5 separate regions of the Homo sapiens genome follow, and all the other regions are linked to region 5. Evidence: promoter capture Hi-C in 16 types of primary human blood cells and fetal thymus (Javierre and others, 2016). All regions are on one chromosome and are shown on one strand. The core of a region is centred on a gene start or on the middle of the fragment in contact, and the rest is flanking DNA. Distances in the headings are between cores, read along the strand shown.

The links. Contacts are between HindIII fragments. The CHiCAGO score rates a contact against its expected background, and 5 or more counts as called.
Region 1: a contact is called between a fragment that was not itself captured here and the fragment with the promoter of CYP2U1 in region 5, in 1 of 17 cell types (monocytes). The highest score is 6.4, in monocytes.
Region 2: a fragment that was not itself captured here is called in contact with the fragment with the promoter of CYP2U1 in region 5 in 2 of 17 cell types (monocytes and M0 macrophages); the score reaches 6.7 in monocytes.
Region 3: a contact is called between a fragment that was not itself captured here and the fragment with the promoter of CYP2U1 in region 5, in 1 of 17 cell types (monocytes). The highest score is 7.0, in monocytes.
Region 4: a fragment that was not itself captured here is called in contact with the fragment with the promoter of CYP2U1 in region 5 in 4 of 17 cell types (M1 macrophages, monocytes, M2 macrophages and 1 more); the score reaches 5.9 in M1 macrophages.

The regions. Positions count from the first base shown.
Region 1 is chr4:107,795,510-107,799,605 of GRCh38, forward strand. No RefSeq gene overlaps it. Among named protein-coding and RNA genes, the nearest start is that of SGMS2, 27 kb to the right of the region's middle. The HindIII fragment of the contact is 3,653 bases long and covers 746-4,096 here.
Region 2 is chr4:107,747,900-107,752,552 of GRCh38, forward strand. No RefSeq gene overlaps it. Among named protein-coding and RNA genes, the nearest start is that of PAPSS1, 30 kb to the left of the region's middle. The HindIII fragment of the contact is 872 bases long and covers 1,812-2,683 here.
Region 3 is chr4:107,728,751-107,733,324 of GRCh38, forward strand. No RefSeq gene overlaps it. Among named protein-coding and RNA genes, the nearest start is that of PAPSS1, 11 kb to the left of the region's middle. The HindIII fragment of the contact is 8,704 bases long and covers 1-4,574 here.
Region 4 is chr4:107,765,029-107,769,557 of GRCh38, forward strand. No RefSeq gene overlaps it. Among named protein-coding and RNA genes, the nearest start is that of PAPSS1, 47 kb to the left of the region's middle. The HindIII fragment of the contact is 977 bases long and covers 1,025-2,001 here.
Region 5 is chr4:107,930,246-107,934,663 of GRCh38, forward strand. It overlaps CYP2U1 (cytochrome P450 family 2 subfamily U member 1), which reads left to right and starts at 1,304. Exons shown (of 5, transcript NM_183075.3): 1 at 1,304-1,888. The coding sequence starts at 1,399. It overlaps CYP2U1-AS1 (CYP2U1 and SGMS2 antisense RNA 1), which reads right to left and starts at 1,874. Exons shown (of 7, transcript NR_125929.1): 1 at 1,726-1,874. The region is part of intron 1 of LOC107986298 (a long non-coding RNA gene); the gene reads right to left. It overlaps LOC124900751 (a long non-coding RNA gene), which reads right to left and starts at 1,340. Exons shown (of 2, transcript XR_007058221.1): 1 at 728-1,340. RefSeq lists enhancers at 674-1,181, 1,842-1,911, 1,972-2,041 and a silencer at 1,042-1,631. The HindIII fragment of the contact is 6,450 bases long and covers 25-4,418 here.

The DNA of each region.
Region 1 (4,096 bases), core at 1,322-3,821, 130 kb before region 5:
GAACATATTATTTCCTCCTGCTCTTTCATTTGTTCTATATGAAAAAGTTGTCCAGAGTAGCACAAGGAGCAAGCTGTTTAGTTTAATAAGCAGCCAATTAGCCAGAGTTTCTTCCCCTTCGATCTCCCAAAGCAGGTCACGTGGTGGGTTATTGCTAGCTTTTCAGATTTATCTAATACTTGCATTTTCTTCTGTGAATTTATTAGATCAGTCCTGAGCCACAGGTGACCCAGAAATCTGGTGGCTTATAGGAAGTAGAATGTAACAAAAGTGTCATTCTTGTGTCCTGAAATTCACTATGTATGTGAACTCCACATTTGAGCAGGGCATGGAATCAATTTGCAATTATTTACTAACAATGGCCCAAAGAGTCATCCTGTCCCCCTGAGCCTAGGAAAAGCCTATTTAAGTGACTTCTCAGGAGGTTCCCTGAAGATGTTCAGGCACTCAGCACCAAGCACCACCCTCTGGATGCTTCCACTTAGAGATCTAGGGAGAAATCGGGCTTTGTCCATCAAAACTGTGTGGAGAGTTCTAGTTAGTGAAGAAGAATGATCAGCATAATGTCACCTGTCTGCATATAGATCATTAGCCTGGACATTTTTGTTTCTGGGTTTGAAGCAATCACCATACATGAATCATGTTACTTTCAAGACTATGATAATTCTGGCAGATTATAAAACAGCAAAATAAATAAATAAGAAGAAAGACTGTGATAACTGTGTAGAACAGAAAACTCTTCAAAAGCTTCTTTGGCAAGAATAGTATTCATTCATTTAACTAAAAACTTACCTACAAAGTGAGAGACAGCAAACTAGCCAATAAAGATGAGCATAGACAGGTTCCTGTCCTGGAGGGACTTACAATCTAAGGAGTAAGAAGAGGTCAAAGGAAGGGGGATTATTTCGAATTTATTAAGTGCTGTGGAAGAACGTATACAAACTACTCTGACAGTAAAGAGGTAAGCGAAATCTGCTCTAATTTATACAATGGAGGCTGTGTAGCTCAGCGGTTAAGAATGCAAACTCTGGAGACAGATGCCCCAACCCCACAGCCCAGTATCTAAGCCTCACAGGGTGTGAGAACTCAAGGACTAAATGAGTTAATACAAGCACTTGGTGAACACTTACCAGTTGTTAGCTCCTCTCCCCAAATGAAGCTATCAGGCTTGTTCTATCCATTGCTATTTAAAATGATCTTTGCCCCATGTGTAACTCCATTTTTTTCTCATTATTGAATATTAATTTCACTCTCCGGAGTTTTTGCTAAAAATATAAATAAAAATTGTTGTTGCGCATTAGCTGTTAAAAGCTGTTTCCAAGACCAATGAGTGTGTTGGCAACAACAACAACAAAATCAGGCTTGGAAGGACATAGGTCCCAAAAACATAGCCAATTCGAGGTGGCCACTAGTGCAACATGAAAGAGTATTCAAGTCTCCCAGTGTCTAGGAAACGAGTTTTTTCAGTACAAACAGGTATACTGTTGAGCCCCAGGATAGAAGAAGGGACTCCAACTGACAAATTTTAAGGTATGGCCACAGGCAGTTCCAAATACCTATTTAATCCCAAAGCTATCTTTGGGTTATGTTTTGGGGATGGGGGTGAGGAATTCTGTCCCTACCTCTTCATTTTTCATAGGGAAAGAGAGAAATTTCTAAACTCCAGCCCTTGGAGGAAAGGACTAGAAACACTTCTGGACTCTCCTGACCCCTCCCCATCTCCTTCCCAAGAAAGGGGGAATGATATCTCTGATTGGTGACATAGGAAAGAAGAAATAGCATTGGTCTTTGGTCACTTTTCTCTCTCTTTTAGAGGGCCTGATCTCAGAATGCTATAGGCTGAATTGTGTTCCCCTACGAAACAGATGTTAAATTCCCAACCCCCCAATGCCTTAGAATGTGACCTTATTTGGAAATAGGGTCTTTAATGAGGTAATCATGTTAAAATGAGGTTATTAGTGTGGTCCCTAATTCAATATGATGGGTTTCCTTATAAAATGAGGAAATCTGGACAGAGACAGACGCAAGAAGAGGGAAGGTAAAGTCAAGAGGCAGGCAGAATACCATGTGACAATGAAGGCAGAGATTAGAGTTAATGCCACCACAAGCCAAGGCATGTGTGGGGCTACCAGAAGCTGGAAGAGGCAAGGAAGGATTCTTCCCCCGTAGGCTTCAGAGGGAGCATGGTCCCCACTGACATCTTAATTTCAGACTTGTAGTCTCCAGCGCTGTGAGACCATATATTTCTGTTCTGAGCTCTAGCCAACTGGTACACAAAACACTTTCTCCACTCACCCTGCCGTAGACTGCCTTCCCCTACAAAGAAACCTGCATGTTCATCCTGTTCAGTGACTAAAAGTGTTGAATTGAATAGATGTGAAGTGGGTATGGCCAGGAAGGGGGTCCCCTTTTCTCAACAGATTTCATTGGTAGCAAAGCGAATCATTTGATGTGTATCTTAAGTCTCAGTCGTTCCTGAATTTGGAGTGGGGAGAGAGTCCTGATTTTCTAGCCTAAACCCCAAATCTAGGCTGAGGCACATACTTTACACGTATTAATGCATGTAATCTTCATAATAAGCCTACAAGAATATGTCCTATTATTATGCCCATTTTATAGGTAAGAGAGTTTAGGCATGAAGAGGTCACATACCTTTCCCAAGGACAATGAATGCTGAGGACTGAACTGCAGGCAGCCTGGGGCCAGAGTCTACATCCTTGCCCACTAAGGGGTGCTGCCTCCCCAAGGGCTACATTCCAAGGAATAAGTCATCAAATGGTTCTATTAAATGGGAGTCTAAGGGTAATCACTGTGGTCCTCCCTATGTACATGTTAATAAGTTTGTATGCCTTTTCTCCAATTAAAAAATAATAATAAAAGGAAAGGGATTCTGTGGTCAAATTTATCAAGAGAACCCTGGGTGAAAAGAAGTGTTTTCTTTAATCTCTTCTAATCTTCTCAGAGTCCTTACAATGCCAACATGTCTTGTGACTGTTAATCAGGATATGGAGCACAGCGTTTGACCACAGAGCACTTTTCAGGGAGCACTTCTTGGGACTAGTGTTCTGAAGAACACCAATTTGGGTCTGAGAGAATATTTTGAGTGGGAGGTACTCTTTCATTTGGATATAGTTCTAGAATCTTTTATAATTTCTATAAGCCAATCAAAATGCTCAGAAATCCCTTAGTTTAAATTTTACAAAGCGTTTAATAGGGCTTAGAGGGAAGGCCGGGCATTGAGATCCACACGCTGAAGCGGACACATGTCCCAGCCACAGAAATAGAAGACACTGGAATGACTGTAACACCAGAACACAGCCTACCTACCTGCGGAAGGTAAGGCACAGCCTCACAGGAAGATGGGATGATTTCAAAGAGGAGTTGGACTTGAGCAGGCCTTGAAGGATGAGTGGGACTTCAGGCAATCATTTTGGATTAACTACCTTAGGACAAAATCTCTCTGTTCCAGGATGGAGTCAGACATCCTGCTGACTCTTGAGATCTGTTTTGATCCCACAGTTTGGACAGAGAAATTTTCCTACAGCTAAGAAAAGATCATAAATTGGTAGCCTTTAGGAAGGATGTGACCAGCAGATCCTTGTTTGGACAACACGATGTGGCTGGTGTGTGTGTGTATACGTATGTGTATGTGTACGTGTAGGTTTAATTTCATGTATATACTCTTGGGACTCACCATCTCTCCCATTTTACTGTCCAGTAAATGTCCAGTCCCGGAAGTTATCTGAGCTCCCCTTTCTAGGCTGATGTAATCACATGCACAACTAAAAGATGAGGTGCCTTTACGCCCCTGTCAACATTTCGGTATGACTGACAGTATCATGGGAAACATCAGAGAGGAAGGTTCTTCCCAACCCTTTTCAGCGTATATGTTTTGTTACTTACCAGAACCTGCCTCCAAAATGAATTCCCACTGTAGAGCAGTGGTATATATATTTGCACTAGTCCTGCCTATTCAGTATTCAACTTCAGTACTTTATATAATGGGTTATATTACATTAAACTAGATAGATCTATCATCCTCTTAAATGTGGTGGGGAAAAGGAGAAGCACAGGATGCCAAGTAATTTAAAATATA
Region 2 (4,653 bases), core at 998-3,497, 180 kb before region 5:
CTCAGACTAGGGAGCATGCCAGCAGAACCTATCTCCTGGTTTTCCATTGTTCCCTAGATAGCTCTGTTTTGGTAATTAGTTAACATTGGCACAGTTCCAGCTTCATGGGTGTCCATGTGCTCTCTCTTTCCACTCATTGCCTCCTTCTTCTATTTAAGTTAATTAAATAATTACTTTTCTCATTATTTTCCGATAGTCATCCAGGGGAAATAACATGCTCAAAACTATAATTTTCAGCATATATTTCAGAGATCCTTTAAAGAAACATTCTCACCTAGAGCAATTTTTATTTTCTGCAGCTATTGACAAAAGCATTTCCTCCAGCAGTTGAAAAAGCTGCCTAACCAGCTGGTTTACCAGCATGACTTGTAGTTGGGTTTCCCAATAGAAGTCCCCACTGGGCTTGCACATTGGTGAAGGGACATGTAGTAGTGGCACTTCTCCCCGAGCTAAACAACTGAAGGAGTGTTTTCTCACTCTGAACAAGAGTGCATATACTCTTTTCCTGATGTTACGTACAGTTAGACTCTTTCCCATAATAAGAAATTGAGACAGGTTGTGTCAGTTAATGGAGTTTTATTCTAAAGATGGAGGGAAGAAAAGGGGAAAGGAGGTGTTTTCAGCAGCCACACAACCAGAAAATAGGCAGAGCACCCTAGGACTGCATATAATGGAAACTCAGTTACTCTTAGCTTCTGCTGCTATTTGTCTTACCCCTACCAACTAATTGACTGATTTTCTCAAATTCAAACTACTCAAAAGAGAAGATATAATTTGATCTGCCTATCACAATCCAATTTAAGCTACTCATGTTTTCTCCTTCTCCTCCTCATCCTCTTTCTTTCTCCATCCCTTTTGCTCAGCCTTCCTATAACCTCTAGTCCTTTTCTCTTTGGGGGCTCCAAAACACTGAGTAGGTCACAGTATCCTGAGTTTTTGTGATGTAGAGTCCTCAAAAACCCACACATTAATTTCAAGCAAGCCACTCAGAAACCCAGATGTTGCAATACTATTTGATAATGGTGAGAATCTTCCCCCTTTTAGAAAGATTTTGTGCTAGGCTTCCTTATCATTGCTGGCTGAGCTACGAATGGCTGCCTTTGGGTCAGGTGCTCAGTTGGGTCTTGTCACCTGGGACCAGGAGATGGGATCATGTCATTTAAAGTGCAACAACCAATTCACTAGGAAACACCCAGATAGAAGCCATGGGTCAGGAAGAAAATGAATCACATACTACTCTTTTCCATAATAGACCAGTGTTCCCAAAGTTCCTTCAGTGGAAACACCACTTCATTGGGAATGCAGTGTGCATTTTGTGAAAAAGGATCTTCTGATAAATTTCATTCCACAAATATTTATGAATGATTACTAAGTTCCAGGCACAGTTCTATACTCTTAAATATCTGAGGAACGCTGTGTTACACAAATTAAACAGATTTTTATGCTGCAAAACTCTTACCACTTTTAACATGCCAGTGAGCCCAAGTGAAGGGCTATAGATTGTACTATCTCTCAAATTTATAATACGAGTGCTCTTTTTCTGAAAAACATTTCTTAAGCCTCATATTACACAAAACATACATCTTGAGAGACACTTAAGTATACAGTTGAAGATCCAGGAAATCACACTGTCAAAGGACACATGTATTGTAGCTAGTCTCCACAGTTACCCCCTACCCCTGATGAACCACATATCCTGGTATTCATACTCCTATGTAGTCCTCACCTACTTTGAATCCAGGCTGAACTTGTGACGACTTACTTAGCCAACAGAATGCGGTAGAAGTGACTGTATGCCAGTTCCAGACTCAAGCTTCACAGCCTCTTAAGAAGTGTGGCTACCTTGCTGGAAAAACTGCATGAAGAGGCCACATGGAGAAAAAGAGGTTCTCAGACTATTTGGAAAAGACCAAGGAACCCACCCTGCAGGAAGAACCGAAGTCCCAGATATATGACCCTGTTGAGCATTAGCCAGATGCCATCATTCATGCCATCCTAGATGAAGTGACAGACATGGGAGTAAAGAAGCCTTCTTGGATGTCCCAGTCCCAGTAGCTATCAAGCAAATCCAAGATGAGCCCTCTCTGTATGTCCAAGCCAAATGCCCAATGCACAAAATTGTGTGAGATGATAAAATGCTTGTTGTTTTAAGCCACTAAGTTTTGAAGTAGTTTATTAGGCAGCAATAGTTAAAAAAATATTAACTATTCTGGAAAAATTACTACATAAACAATGTATTGCACCAAGATTACATTTATAAACACATATGTCTATTTCAGAAATGACCCATTTTAGAGGAAATACTTTAAATATCATTTATTTATAGAGACTTAAATAATTTCATGGTTTATTATAATAATTTTCATTCATTTACTTTTGTACCTCTTTATCAGTAAAAATTAAAAATCAAATAAAAGTTATAAAATATTTAATCACAGAGAAACCAATTTAATTGTACATATTTCTTGCAGTAAACAAATTAAAATGCTTGCATACAATAAGAAACTAAGAAAAAATTGGATTGAACTTGAGACACGCATTTGTTTATAAGAGGCTAATCTAATTAAAAGCACATCTGTTTGTTTATGCTGCAAGAAATCTCAATAGCAATTAGGAAATTATAAATTCCTAACATAAAAACTAGCCCTAATTTTAGTCAGAGGACACCATCCTGTTATTTATAAGCTTGGGGGTACTAATTATTTACCGTGCAGAAGGTAAAATGCACTAGTGAAACACAGTACTCCTTCTCCTTCTCCTCCTCCTCTTCCTCCTCTTCTCTTCTCCTTCTCCTCCTCATCCTCTTCCTTTCTCCTTCTCTTTTGCTCAACCTTCCCATAACTTCTAGTCCTTTTCTCCTTCGATGTCCAAAATACCGAGTAGGTTATAATATCCTGCGTTTTTGTGATGCAGAGTCCTGAAAAAAAACCCACACATTCATTTCAAGCAAGCCACTCAGAAGCCCAGATGTTGCATTACTATGTTATAATGGTGAGAATCTTCCCCATTTTAGAACTCACCCTTTTCTAGGCTGAGCAGCCTAGTAGCATAAGATGCACAGGATCCTAAATCACAGTTCTTCTGTCCTTACATTAAAGCTGCATTCTTCTTGGTTAACATTACTAGGCATGACTTTCTGATATTTACACAAATTATTTCATACAGATGTTTTAGTATATGCAAATGACTAAGCAGAGTTGTTTAATAAGAATTTAAATATTTAAGACTAAGTTTTCATTTTGGAATTACAGTAACACATTTCAAGAGAATACAAAAAGATGCACTAAATAACATTATGTCCAATAAAGCACAAAGTTAATAATGTTGTTTAAGGAAAAACTGGAAGAAAGAGGGCATTTTTTTCCTATTTCTTTCAACCAAGTGTTTGGAGGCTATCATAGGGTTGTCTACTTTGTTTTGTGTTTCTTTTTAACATGTTGGCTTCAATTCTTCAGTTTTGACCTTTTGATCTGTCTTTCATCTGACAATTCCAGGACAAATGCTGGAGTATAACACATATTTAATGGAAGTATTATAATTCAGGCAGACTGGCATCTCTCTGGTTCCTATAAGAATTTATTTCTATCAAGCAACAGTAGTACTCTATGTTACCTCATTGGTTAGCATACAGTGCCTAGTGTTAACTTTCCTTTACCTTCTAATCATAAATTAGATTCTACTATGCTAATCTTAAGAGCAACCGTTGTATTAAAGGAAACAGATCACTATAATTCAATCTAAATTTACTTAGAAGTAATTATTTCATTAAAGGTACTATACCTGAATAGATCAAGAAACTGCTCTCTAGTTGTGTTTCTGCATAAATAATAAACTGACTGAGACATGAAAGAGTACCCTGAAGAAACTATAGATATGAGTACGGTGACTCACTGGTTTGAAGAACAGAAAGTTTCTCTGTGATGCTCCACAATGTTTTCCTTTCTTCTAGTTTTTTTTACGTTAACTTTGTGATTTGTTGGACATAATGTGTGTATACAATCTGCCCTCTGCAAACTGGAAAGTTACAAAAGCCCTTGGTGTAAATATTTAGCCTTAATCCAAAGGCTTGGGAACTGGGAGAGCTGACAGTGAAACTCCCAATCAAGTTTGAAAGCCTGAAAACCAGGATAGACCATTAGTGTAAGTTCTGAGTCTGGAGGCCCAATAACTGGAAGCTCTGATGTCCAAAGGCAGGACAAGATGAATCCACTAGCTCAAGAAGAGAGAGTGAGGACAGGCACAGTGGCTCACATCTGTAATTCCAGCACTTTGGGAGGCCAAGGTGGGAGGGTTGCTTGAGGCCAGGAGTTCAAGACCAATATAGCAAGACCTCGAGCTCTACAAAAAATAAAATTAGCTGGATGTGGTGGCATATGCCTATGGTCCCAGCTACTCAGGAGGCTGAGGCAGGAAGATCACTACAGGTTGAAGCTGTGGTGAGCCATGATCATGCCACTGCCTTCCAACCTGAGAGAGAGAGGGAGACCTGACCTTCTCTGGGGGGAAAAGAAGAAGTAGAGAGAGAGGGAGTGAATTAATCCTTCCTCCATCTTTTTGTTTTACTGAGCTCTGTAAGGATTAGACAATGCCCACCCACATGGGTGAAGGTGTGTCTTCTTTTTCCCAGTCCACCAATTCAAATGCTAATCTCTT
Region 3 (4,574 bases), core at 774-3,273, 200 kb before region 5:
GAGAGACTGAGAAAAGAAATAAGACACAGAGACAAAGAATAGAGAAAGAACAGTGGGCCCAGGGGACAGGCACACTCAGCATGTGAGGACCTGCACCGGTGCCAGTCTCCAAGTTCCTGTAGTATTTATTGATTACTATTTTCACTATCTCAGCAAGGGGAGTGCAGCAGAACAGGGTGAACAGGATGATGGTGGGGAGAAGGTCAGCAGGAAAACATGTGAGTAAAGGAATCTGCATTATAAATAAGTTCAAGGGAAGGTACTATACCTCGATGTGCATGTAGGCTAGATTTATGTTTCTCTTTACCCAAACATCTCAGTGTAGCAAAGAGTAACAGAGCAGTATTGCTGCCAGCATATCTTGCCTCCAGCCACAGGGCAGTTTTCTCCTATCTCAGAATAGAATGAATGGTCGGCTTTACACCAAGACATTTCATTCCCAGGGACATGTGGGAAACAGAGGCCCTCCTCTTATCTCAACTGCAAAGGGCCTTCCTCTTTTACCAATCCTCCTCAGCACAGACCCTTTACGGGTGTCAGGCTGGGGGGGATGGTAATGTCTTTCCCTTCCCACGAGGCCATATCTCAGGCTGTGTCAGTGGAGGGAAACCTTGGACAATACCCAGGCTTTCTTGGGCAGAGGTTCCTGTGGCTTTCCACAGTGCATTGTGTCCCTGGTTAATAGAGAATGGAGAACGGCAATGACTTTTACCAAGCATACTGCCTGCAAACATATTGTTAACAAGGCACATCCTGCACAGCCCTAAATCCCTTAAACTTTGACTCAATACAGCACATGTTTCTGTGAGCACAGTGTTGGGGCTAAAGTTACAGGTTAACAGCATCTCAAAGCAGAACAATTTTTCTTTGTACAGATCAGAATGGAGTTTCTTATGTCTTCGTTTTTCTACATAGACACAGTAACAGTCTGATCTCTCTTTCTTTTCCTCACACCATCCTGGCTAATATGGTGAAACCCCATCTCTACTAAAAAATACAAAAAAATTAGCCGGGCATGGTGGCAGGCACCTGTAGTCCCAGCTACTTGGGAGGCTGAGGCAGGAGAATGGCGTGAACCCGGGAGGCAGAGCTTGCCGTGAGCCGAGATGGCACCACTGTACTCCAGCCTGAGAAGTGAGACTCCATCTCAAAAAATAAATAAATAAAAATAAATAAATAAATTAGAGAACTCAAACAGTTATTTTCCAGTGTAGCGCACCTCCCCATCGGTCACACTTTCAACCTCACCTCTAGGGGTCCGCTGGGACTTCAGTCTATTTACAGATCTAGAGGCAAACAGAGGTGTTGGGGGTGGCTTCTGAGAAAAACCATCATTATCTTGACTGGCAACTGCCTCAGGGGAAGCCATCGCTGTTGCCTCAGGCAGTGCAGGATTTATCTCCTCAGACAAAGGTGAAAAGGCTGATGGCAGCATGGGTCAGGGAGGGGATGTTGCCACTACTGGAGATGGGGAAGCTGTTTCTTCTGGCAAAAAAGGTTAATCAGAGTTTACAAACTCAGTGTCCCAGCTTCATCAGGCCCCCCCCCCCACCCGCCCCAACACACATCCCCATTCCAAGTTGCAGGGTTCCATTCTTTTCCAATCAATGCCCTCACTTTAACAGTAGGCACCTGGCGAAGCTCTGCATGCATCTTTCATTGCAGGTCAGCCACTCGCATGATAAGAGTTTGTGTCTGTTTTTCCACAATTATAGCAGTTTCTCTGCAGGAGATAAGAATCTCACTTAGGGCAATCTTAGCAGACTTGAGGCTCAGTATCTTCTTCTGAAGCTGGGAGACAAAATCCCTGAGTGTATCATTTTGTTTTATCACTTTGTCCACTGGACTTAGGAGCAACCAACTAGCTTCATTATGCTCCTTGGTTCTCCACATATGGTCAAGGGTATTCTGTATAGTCACTAAACTCCTTGCCTCTCACGAGCGGTGAATCAGGAGTGTCAAATGTATTTATTTGGCGTAACTCTCTAAACAGTTTCTGCCAAGGACTATCGGTGTTCTCCATATTATTAGAAGTAGAGTCCTTAGCATTTTTTGGTCTAATCATATTAAGAAGACAACTCCAGAAACCCCAAAACCAATGAAAGAACTCCATCCTTAATATTCTATTCCTCTAGAACCACTCCTGGTACCAAAATCTGTATTAGTCAGGGTTCTCTTAGAGGGACAGAATTAATAGGAGATATATATACATATTTTTTTTTACTTAAACTCATAGATATATAGATATATATATAAATGAGTTATTAAGTATTAACTTACACAATCACAAGGTCCCACAATCACAAGGTCCTCAGCTGTCTGCAAGCTGAGGAACAAGGAGAGCCAGTCTGAGTCCCAAAACTGAACAACTTGGAGTCTGATATTCAAGACCAGGAAGCATCCAGCATGGGAGAAAGATGTAGGCTGGGAGGCTAGGCCCATCTTGCCTCTTCACGTTTTTCTGCCTGCTTTATATTCACTGGCAGCTGACTAGATGGTGCCCACTCGATTAAGGGTAGATCTGCCTTCCCCCCAGCCTACTGACTCAAATGTTAATCTCCTTGGGCAACAACCTTATAGACACACCCATGATCAATATTGCATCCTTCAATGCAATCACATTGACTCTCAGTATTAACCGTCACATCCTCAATGGCTGCAAATATCATGAAAATAAAGAACACCATAACTTTTTGCCTCCTGATGAAAATCATGAAAAAGTCAAATCAAATCTGGTTCTAATCAAGTCTTCAGGACAATTTATAGGTTTGCAGTTAATGCAGAGGAAAGAGGAAGAGGTGAAAACACCACAAATGCAATTAGTCAAACCCAAACTCTGGAAAACTACAACATTAATGACCTGAGTTTTCAGTAATTCAAAGATAGGAAAAAATAAATGAGGAAAAACTAAAGAATAAAATAAGATATAAAATAAAAATGGAGCAATTAAAATATTTGAAACATATTTGAACACTGATCCAAACAAAAGAAATTTTTTAAAAATTTATGAGACTATATGGGAAATTTGAAGAGTTTCTGAACTCGATATAAAAGACTTACTTTTTTGGTGTGATAAATAGCAGTGTTATTATATTTTTTAAATAAGTCAGTTAAGAGTATATTAGTCCATTTTCCCACTGCTAGAAAGAAATACCCAAGACTGGGTAATTTATAAAGGAAAGAGGTTTAATTGACTCACAGTTTCACATGGCTGGGGAGGCCTCAGGAAAGTTACAATCATGATGGAAGGGGAAGCAAGCACATCTTACATGGAGGTAGAAGAGCAAACAACAGGAAAAACTGCCACTTATAAAACCACCAGATCTTGTCAGAACTCACTCGCTATCATGAGAACAGCATGGGGAAAACTACTACCATGATCCAATCACCTCCTTCCCTCCACGTCAAGATTACAATTCAAGATGAGATTTGGGTAGGGACACAGAGCCAAAACATATTAGTGAGATATATGCTGAAAGATTTATCAGTGAAATGGCAAAGCCATAAATATTCAGGAACCAAAATTGGTTTCCTGAATATGGTAGCAGGAATGGGGGAAAATGGTTGATACATCTTTCAGAATGCAGAGCAAAAATCCCAAGAGATGGGAAATACAGCATAATTTTTTAGAAAAGAAAGAAAAGAACAGTCCAGGAAATCTAACATCCAAGTATTAGAAGTTCTACGAAGAAAAAAAAAAAAAACAGAGAAAACGCACAGAAGGAAATAACCATGGCAATTATTTAATGAAATTTCCTAGAACTGAAATGCCTCCCTGAATGCCTAACTCAACAGATAAAATCAAGCACGGAAAAAGCATAAAGCATAGCACCATGAAGTTTCAGAATACTGTTATACAATAGTTCGAAATTGTTTGGAAACCCTGCAAGCCTCTAAAGAGAAGAAGAGTTCATGAACAAAGAGTCAGGAATAAAAATGAATTAGAAGTTGTCAAGAAAAAGACTGCAAGTTAGAAGACAAATGGACCAATACCTTCAGAGCTCTGAAAGTATTTTCAGTTAGAAATTGGAATTGCTATATACGCTTTCTCAAGGAAATACTGGAGGATATGTTCTGTGGCAGGCCAATTCTCCCTGACAATCACACAGACAAGCCTGCATAGCACTTCAGTTACACAGACTAATTTCCACAGAGCTGCCTTAACATTGAGCAAATAGTTAAGCCTAGGGAAATCAGTGCCCAGACATCAGAGATAGAAGTGAAACATATGGTCAGTAGGAGCCTTCCATGGTCTTCTCCCTAACCTGGAGCAAACCAAAATAATAGAGACAGTCTTACATTCCCAGTGCCAGGACCCATATCTGAGACAAGTCAAGGTAACAGAGGCAGCTGTTTGAACAGATTCATTGGAGAGTCTAAGGCAGCTCTCCAGACAAGCTGTAAAGGACATAAGATAGAAATAATCACTCTGGTACCACAGTAGGCAGGCCTTGAAGGTACTGGGGCCCTTTTAATCAGACTTTTGCCTCTGACCTTCTAGTTGAAACAAAATTAGTTACCAATAGACTTAGGCAAATGCTATACTGCATGTAGGCACATAACTCCAACCTATA
Region 4 (4,529 bases), core at 263-2,762, 170 kb before region 5:
TGTAACCTTCAACTCCTGGTTTCAAGCAATCCTCTCACCTCAGCCTCCCAAGTAGCTAGGCTACAGGTATGGGTCATTATGCCCAGCTAATTTTTTATTTTTATTTTTTGTAAAGACAGAGTCTTGTTACATTGCCCAGGCTGGTCTCAAACGCCTGGCCTCAAGCAATCCTTTGGCCCTGATCTTCCAAAATGTTGGGATTATAGGCGTGAGCCAATGTACCCAGCCCAACATGAACATATTAATTAACACAATATTATCTATCCTTTCTCCTTTCCTTGCTTCCTGTACTAAATGCAGACAACGTCAGAGATGAAGGCAGATATTCAAGTGGAGGATTTTAAAAGAAATTCACTATAAAATTCTGGGAGTTACAGGTACAAGAACTAGTAAGCTAACTATTGTCTTGTTTTTACTCTGACAGCTTTGCTACAGTCACTGTGTTCTACACAAATAGAACGATATGGAGAAGTTATGACAACTAAAGTGAATTTCCTGAGAAATGTAATTTTGGAGAAATTGAAGGATTTAGGAAGAGATGATACTCACAGAGACATAGCAATGTTGCATTTGAACTGATGTAACAAACTGATTATGAAGAGGCATAGTGGAAGAAAGGGATATTCAGGGGAACAATAAAAAGTCATCTGTGACCAACTAAAAATCCCATGTTCAAAATAGCTCAAAGAATCAAAATGCTACTCTTATTTTAATCACTATGTTTTGAAATAAAAGATAATGTCTTAATTCATTACTTATATTTCTGCCAAAATTATCTTTGAAAAAAATTTCTTAATAGAAAGAAAAAGAAAAGAAAAAGATAATGCCACAGGATTATTTAAATAGAAATGGAGATTTCTGGTTTGACCTGGTGAATTGAATAGATGTATCACTTCTATTCTCTCCTGAATGCCTATTAATATGACAATAATAATATTTAAAATATATAGGCCTAAAAGAATCAAAATTACAGGAGAGAAGACACAGGGGGTCAGGAAACATCAGTGTATTTTGGAGGATGGAAAGCTTGATTACTCAGGGGAATAGAGGAAGCTGAACCTGTTTCTTTAGAAGGAGGAAACAGAACCAAGCTGCAAAGGCTCAAGAATTGGGTTTTGCAGAAAGGGAGTACAAAGCCCAGGTCTGGAATTAAGAGAATCATTGGAAATTCTGTGTAAGAGGTGGTTAGACCCTGAAAAGCCTCAACATCCCCTTCCAAATTCTCAGACTTGAGATTTATTCCTTACAGAACATGAATCACAAAGAATTTAGGCTTACAGACAATGGGAACAGAAAGATTCAAGAGGAGATATGGGACTGAAAATAGGTGGATTAGGTGGAATCTATATATTTACCAGAGAAACACACCCCCAATCCCTGCCAGCCCTCATTCCCTGTCCCCAAATACTCGCAGCCAGACACACACACATCCCAGGGACAAGACTTTGAGAAACTTTCAAGACAGAAACTGAATGACCCCTGAGAATATGCTACAGATTCAAAGCCATTTTCAGGCATGTAAATTCTCAAATAGGGAGAAAATCAGTAAAGAAGAAGCTAGGATTCTGGAAACATGGGCTTCCACAGAGAAGACAGCTGAGGAGATTTCCCAGGAAAATATCAAAAGAAAGTGCCAGAGTAACGAAGCATAAAATGGAACTACAAGGCAACCAGTCAAGATTGGAGCAGGAGAGTAAAGATTTCTGGAAATAAATTCAAAATGGCACTCAGATTATCTGACAAGCATTGGAATATGTGAAATCGCATTTAGAAGACAAGTGAATGAATAATTGACAAAATTATTGGCTCCAGGGGAAAGGAAAGGAAACATAATTATGTCACACTACTAGTTTCAGCAATGAAACTAGTAGTAGAAATTATACACACATAACTAGTAGTAGGAACTAGTAGTAGAAATTATACACACATAATTTTATATACAAAGCATTCTACTATTTACCCTGTATGTTATAAACATTTTCACATTTAAAACTTCCTTTAAGCTTAATATTTTAGTATTTATGCAATAATGTATCTATTAATATCATATAACTAATCTATTATAGCACCATAATTATTTCATTTGTGTCTCTATTATTAGTCATTTAAATTTCTTTTTACTTGTTTTAGTAGGTTCGGGCAAATAGGCACTTTTATGCACTGGGAATACTTAAATTCCCTGACCTGGCGAATTTACTTCTAGAATCTATCCTTGAGAAGCAATTATAGAAGTGTGTAAATTATATATGTCATGTCGCTCTTTGCTGAATTATCAAATAGGAGAAATTGGCAATGATCTAAATTACCAACAATAGGGTAATTACCAAATAAATTTTGATTTACTACATAACACAGTATATGGTCATTTAAAACATGAGTTAGATCTGTTTGGGCTGCCTTGGAGAATAATCCATGACAAATTGATGAATGATGGGATGGGAATGGAAATATAAGTCTTTGGTAAATTAATAGAGCTCATTTTTTGTGGGAAAAATACTATATGTGTGTATTTATAATAAATATATACACAGATGTTTGTACAGACATAAAAATACATCTAGAAAAATATATAATAAACTCTTGATAATGGTTATCCTTAGGAAGTAAGATTAGGCTGGGCAGGAGAGAAACTTTTATTTTGTATTTTTCAGCATTATTTGAATTACCACAAGCATATATTACTTTGATTATTTTTGAAAAACATAGATAAATACAGACAATCTAAATAGAACTTATGAGGTAATTACATCTTCAAAGATGGTCCACCCTAGTAGCTTTTTAAAATTGCTCCTGATCAAACAGGAGACTCGCCAGTCCCATCAGTCCTCCTTATTTAAAGGGAAATGAAGAGAGCCCAATTTTCTCTGGAGTTGAACGCGTTCTGGATTACCAGTATTTTAATTAGGCAAATGAAAGTCAGCTTTCTATTTTGATATGTTATCACTCCAAGGGAGAGACTGAACCAGGTCAATCAAATAATGTTTTCTGGGACTGAACAAGATCAATCAAAAACTTTGGGCCTTCTCAGTTTTGCCCTTCTCAGAGTCCTTAAGGGTTTCACAAATAGGCAGAAGTCTCTATGAATACTCAAAATCATCTAGAATTGTCAACTTCAGACTTTCTTTTTCCAACTCTTTTAGCTTATAGAAATTAGAGTGCAAAAGTGCATAATCAAATTTCTGATTATTAATACTTTTAGCTGAATTTTAGTTTAGAAAAATATGGACCAGGTTAAATGAAAGTATGCCACAGGGTTTCTCAGTTTTAGTACTATTGACATTTTGAGCAGGATAATTCTTTGTTGTAGTGGGTTGTCCCTAAACTGTATCCACTGGATGCCAGTAGCCAACACCTCCCTCCAGTTGTGACAACCAAAAAATACCTTCTGACATTGCCAAATATCCCTGGAGAACAATATCAGCCTCAGTTGGAAAGTGATATAATTGGAATAGTGTTCAGCCACTAAAACAAATGGATTAGTTCTATGTATATTGATAGAAACAATTTCAAAGTAGTAAGTGAAACATGAAAGGTACAAAATGGTGTGTAGAGCATGCCAATAATGTAGTAATTAAAACCCTGGGCTTTAAAGCCAAACCACCTGGAATGAAATCCTAGCTCTTCCAGGCTGGGCGCAGTGGTGCAGTCTGTAGTCCCAGCACTTTGGGAGGCCAAGGCAGGTGGATCATTTGAGGTCAGGAATTCGAGACCAGCCTGGCCAACATGGTGAAACCCCATCTTTACTAAAAACACAAAAATTAGCCAGGCATGGTGGTACATGCCTGTAGACCCAGCTACTCAGGAGGCTGGGGCAGGAGAATTGCTTGAACCCGGAGGCAGAGGTTGCAGTGAGCCGAGATCACACCACTGCACTCCAGCCTGGGCAATAGAGCGAGACTCCATCTTAAAAAAAAAAAAAAAAGAGAAAGAAAAGAAAAGAAATCCTAGCTCTTCCAAACCAGCTGTGTGATGATAGGCAATTTACTTATCTTCTCTGTCTCTAGAATTTTATTTCTAAAAGTCCTATCATGGGATTAAGATTAAGTACATATCATATAGTTAGTGGCAGGGTTAAATGTGATGATATATAGAAAGTGCTTAGAACAGTGTCTGGCATAAATGTTATGATTTGTGATCATCATCACCACCATTTGTGAAAATATGAGATTACAGAATATGTCTGGAAAGACATATAAGGAAACTGGTGACAGTGATTTCCTCTGGGCAAGGGTGTGGCTAACGGTACTGGGGAAACTTACTTTATCCTGGATGCTCTTTGGAGTGTTTTGAATTTTTCTAGTATTGCCTATTCAAACATTTTACAAAGATAATTTAGTTTTAAAAGGCTTTATAAACATGTTAGATTCCTACCTGATATTTTTTAAAAGGTACATCAAAACTTCTGAGTAGCTATTTTTCCTCTGTTGCTAACAAAATCAAAATCTGCTTGTTGGTAGGTAATCGAGTAACATCCAAATTATGCCATTTCTTTTTATTCCTGGAGATAGGGAGGAGCTTCATTCATTTCC
Region 5 (4,418 bases), core at 54-2,553:
TTTTTTTTTTGTTTGGGGTGCATAAGCTTAAAATAACATGAAAAGCATGTCAAAAAGAATATGAGAACAGAGTGGACTTGAAATTTAACATATCCTACTGGCATCACTTGTTTATAGAAAAATAAAATGGATCATGTATTTATTTGAGGACTCACTATGCTTTCTTTGATCACATTTTTATAGGTACAGCGTGGTGTTCAAACTTTTAATGTATGGAGAAAAATGAAACGGCTAGAAAAATGGCCCAGTACAGACAATTCTATGCTCAATCCAACTTGAACAGAAACTACAGGATTTGGCCTAAACAAGACTGAAAGGGAAGCCCTTATCAGGAAAGCCATTATCTGAGAAGATAAAATAAAGTAATACTTTGTTTTTAAAGTATTATACAATTCATATCTAATATTTCAACCTCAGCCTTTCAAGTGTTGTCTAACACCAATAATAATATTGCCACCCCTCCCTCAACCGGTTATCTTCTTTTCATATTTCTAGCTACTTAAATCCACCAAGCAAATTCTGGTTTCGCTATTTCTGGATTTAAGTACATTTTCTAATGCACCCAGGCCACACGCAGGAATGGACACAGCTTTCGCTCTCCGCATAAGTTTTCTAGCCCAGGGCAAGCTCTCAGAACGTGACTCCTCGTGCCTCGCTGCCCGCCCCTCGCTCCCCCCACTCCCGCCATCATCCCTTCCGCAGAGTTGGCTGCCAAGCCGACACCCACAGATTCTGCATTCCACGGCTTCCCAGCATCCTGCTGTCTCTGCGTGGAGGAAAGGGTGCTGCGAATCCCAGTTTAGATAAGGAACCCCGTCTTTTCACTACTACACCGAAGCATGCAGGAATAGGGCGTTGACCCCATTCTCCCAGCTCAGGGCACAGGTGCTAAGGCCGACCCATCTCACGGGCCTGTTCACCAGTTTCCCACACTCAGTACAGATCCTAACACGGTTTATGCACTTCATAACCATGCGTTTGTGTTTGTCAACTGACAAACGAGTGATAATGACAAACGAATGACACAAGGGAAACCAACAGCCAATCAGAGCGCAAGGTTGTGTTGCCAGCATCCCAGTTTCAGGGACAGTCACCGCCAAGCCCGACCCTGCAAAGGGTCGTAACCGGACTTCGGGGCAAACTTCAGGTCCCCCGCCTGCTAGCCCGCCAACCCCCTCCGCCAGGCAGCCGGCGCGCCTCCAGGTTCCGCCCAGGCGTCGCTGAGTGGCGGCGGCGGGGAGAATGCGCGCGGCGCAGCCAATCCGGGGGCGTTCCTACACCCCCTGCCCGCCCCCGACCTTCCAGAGCAGAGCAGGACACTGGCGCCGCGGGTCAGGCAGCTGCGTGCGCGTCTCCTCCAGGCAGCAAGGGGAACCCGAGGCCGCCGGCGCCCGGACCATGTCGTCTCCGGGGCCGTCGCAGCCGCCGGCCGAGGACCCGCCCTGGCCCGCGCGCCTCCTGCGTGCGCCTCTGGGGCTGCTGCGGCTGGACCCCAGCGGGGGCGCGCTGCTGCTATGCGGCCTCGTAGCGCTGCTGGGCTGGAGCTGGCTGCGGAGGCGCCGGGCGCGGGGCATCCCGCCCGGGCCCACGCCCTGGCCTCTGGTGGGCAACTTCGGTCACGTGCTGCTGCCTCCCTTCCTCCGGCGGCGGAGCTGGCTGAGCAGCAGGACCAGGGCCGCAGGGATTGATCCCTCGGTCATAGGCCCGCAGGTGCTCCTGGCTCACCTAGCCCGCGTGTACGGCAGCATCTTCAGCTTCTTTATCGGCCACTACCTGGTGGTGGTCCTCAGCGACTTCCACAGCGTGCGCGAGGCGCTGGTGCAGCAGGCCGAGGTCTTCAGCGACCGCCCGCGGGTGCCGCTCATCTCCATCGTGACCAAGGAGAAGGGTGAGCGGGAGGTCGTGGGCTGTGGGTACGCGGATGCCGCGGATGAGTCTCCAGGTGCGTGGGGGCTGCAGTTCCTGTGCCCCTTCCGGCCGCCCGCGCCCCCAGGCTGCCTCACACCTGCATCCTGAACTAACAGGTGATGGTGGTGGCGGCGCTTCTCCTTTCTGATGCCTTTAAGATCCCATCAAGTAGTGACGGACGCGTGACTTGCTCATACTCCAAGATCATAAGTAGAAAAGTCATCCGGAGATTGAGGGAGAGTAATAGGGATGGCGGAAGGACAAGGTGGCAAGCCAGGTTCCATCTTTCCAAAAGTAGCCTTCCCTTCCACCAGCTGTGACCTCGGAGAGAAACTTTGGCCCCCATGTTAGAAAGAGGGAAGGATATTCTTTTTACCTTGTGGGTTTCGAATGTAAGAATTTAAGAAGATAATTTCCAATAAGATAAAAAGTCCAGAAAACACAGAAGAAGCCTATTACCAAATCTCCGGCTTTGGTTCATAGCCTCTGATTCCTGCGTATGGGAGTCTAAATTGGACATTTTTGGGGGTTGGAAAACGTGTTATCTGCTGCAATAAAATGTCCAATCTAACCTGTCTCTACCGTCCCCCTTTGTCTTACTGGCTGGCTTAGGTCTCTGACTTCTTTTCTGAGTCACTCCTACGCATCAGTCAGGTGTTAAATGCCTTTTCCTTGGGGAAGCCTTTTCTCACAGCCTCTGCAAGTAGGGTAGCCTCCCTTGTTAGAACCAGGTCCCTTGCCCAAGCACTTTTCCTTCACTACACTTTTCAAAACTGACGCTACATAACTTTATGACCTTGGGCCTGGATGTCAGTCTTCACCACTGTTCTGACATCTAGGAGGACAGAGTCATTGCTGTCTGAAACATAGTAGGAGTTCAAGTATCTATTAAATGAATGCTATTTCCTGCCCCTATAACATGGCAAAGAAAGATCTAGGCTTTTCAGAATCTGATAAAGCCAGAGTTTTGCATCAGGATTTTAAACGGAAAAGACAAATATTGTATGATCCACTTATATGAGGTGCCTCCTAGCGTAGTGAAATTCATAGGGACAGAAAGTCTCAGTTTTGCAAGATGAAAAAAGTTCTATGGATGGATGGTAGCAATGGTTGCACAACAGTGTGACAGTACCTAATGCCATTAAGGTGTGCACTTAAAAATGGTTAAGATGGTAAATTTTATATGTATTTCACCACAATTTTTAAAAAAGAAAAGAAAAGCAGGTAGGTTTTCTCCAGGCACCCATGAGCTCAGAAGAGAATTTTAGGTAGAAGCAGTATTACGAAGGCATGTAGTGGATGAGGTGTGAACTGTGACATTTGTTTTTCAGTGGGGCATTTAAAGTATTATGATCTTTATCCCTACTCATTTAAAATCCTTAGATAATGTCTTAGTGTTCATCCATGTTGTGGCATATGTGAAAATTTTCTTTTGAAGACTAATATTCCATCATATGTACAATCATCCCTCCTTATCTGTAGGGGATTCCTTCCAGGACCTCCTGCGAATAACAAAACCCTAGGATGCTCAAGTCCCTGATATAAAATGGTGTAGTATTTGCATATAGCCTATGCATATCCTCTTGGATACTTTAAATCATCTCTAGATTATTTATAATACCTACTACAATGTAAATGCTTTGTAAATAGTTGTTATACAGTATTGTTTAAGGAATGACAAGAAAAAAAGTCTACACATTCAGTACAGATGTGTTTTTTTGATCTGCGGTTGGTGGAACCAACAGATGTGGAACCCATAAATGTGGAGGGTCGACTGTATATACCACATTTTGTTTACCCATTCATCCATTGATAGACACTTGTGCCTCCAACTTTGGGCTATTGTGAATAATGCTGCTATAAATAGAAGGGGGCAAATATCTGAGTCCCTAGGAGTTACTTGATCATGTGGTAATTCTAGGTTTAATTTTTTGAAGAACCATCATACTATTTTACAGTGAGTGCACCAGTTTACATTCCCACAGGGGTCCCAATTTCTCCACGTCCTCACCAACACTTCTTTTTTTTTTTTTTTTCACACTTGCTTTTAAGATTGGGCTTAAATGTTACCTCTTTGAGAATGTGTACCCTGAGATGCTTCCCTACCCTGCAGAAGGAGATGAACTTCTATGATACCATTGTTTCATTTTAAGACCTTCCCAGTCCCTTCTAATCAATCCATAAGTCTTACTGACTCCTACAGCAGATATGTGTGCTACATCCATCTACTTTTCTCCATCTCTACTGTCAGCATCCTCATCCAAGCTACCATCATTTATTTATTTTTCTTTTTTTTCTAAAGCTACCATCATTTCTAAGCTGATACTTTAGAAGCCTCTTAACCGACCTGCTTGCTTCCGCTCCAGATTTTCATCCACAGAGCAGCCAAAAGTATCTCTTACATAAACCATGAATCAAATCTTGTAGCTCTCTGGCTGAAACCAATTGCCTCTGCACTCCTTACTTGACCTACTATGGCCTGAAGGATCTGGCTGCTGCCTTTCTCTTTT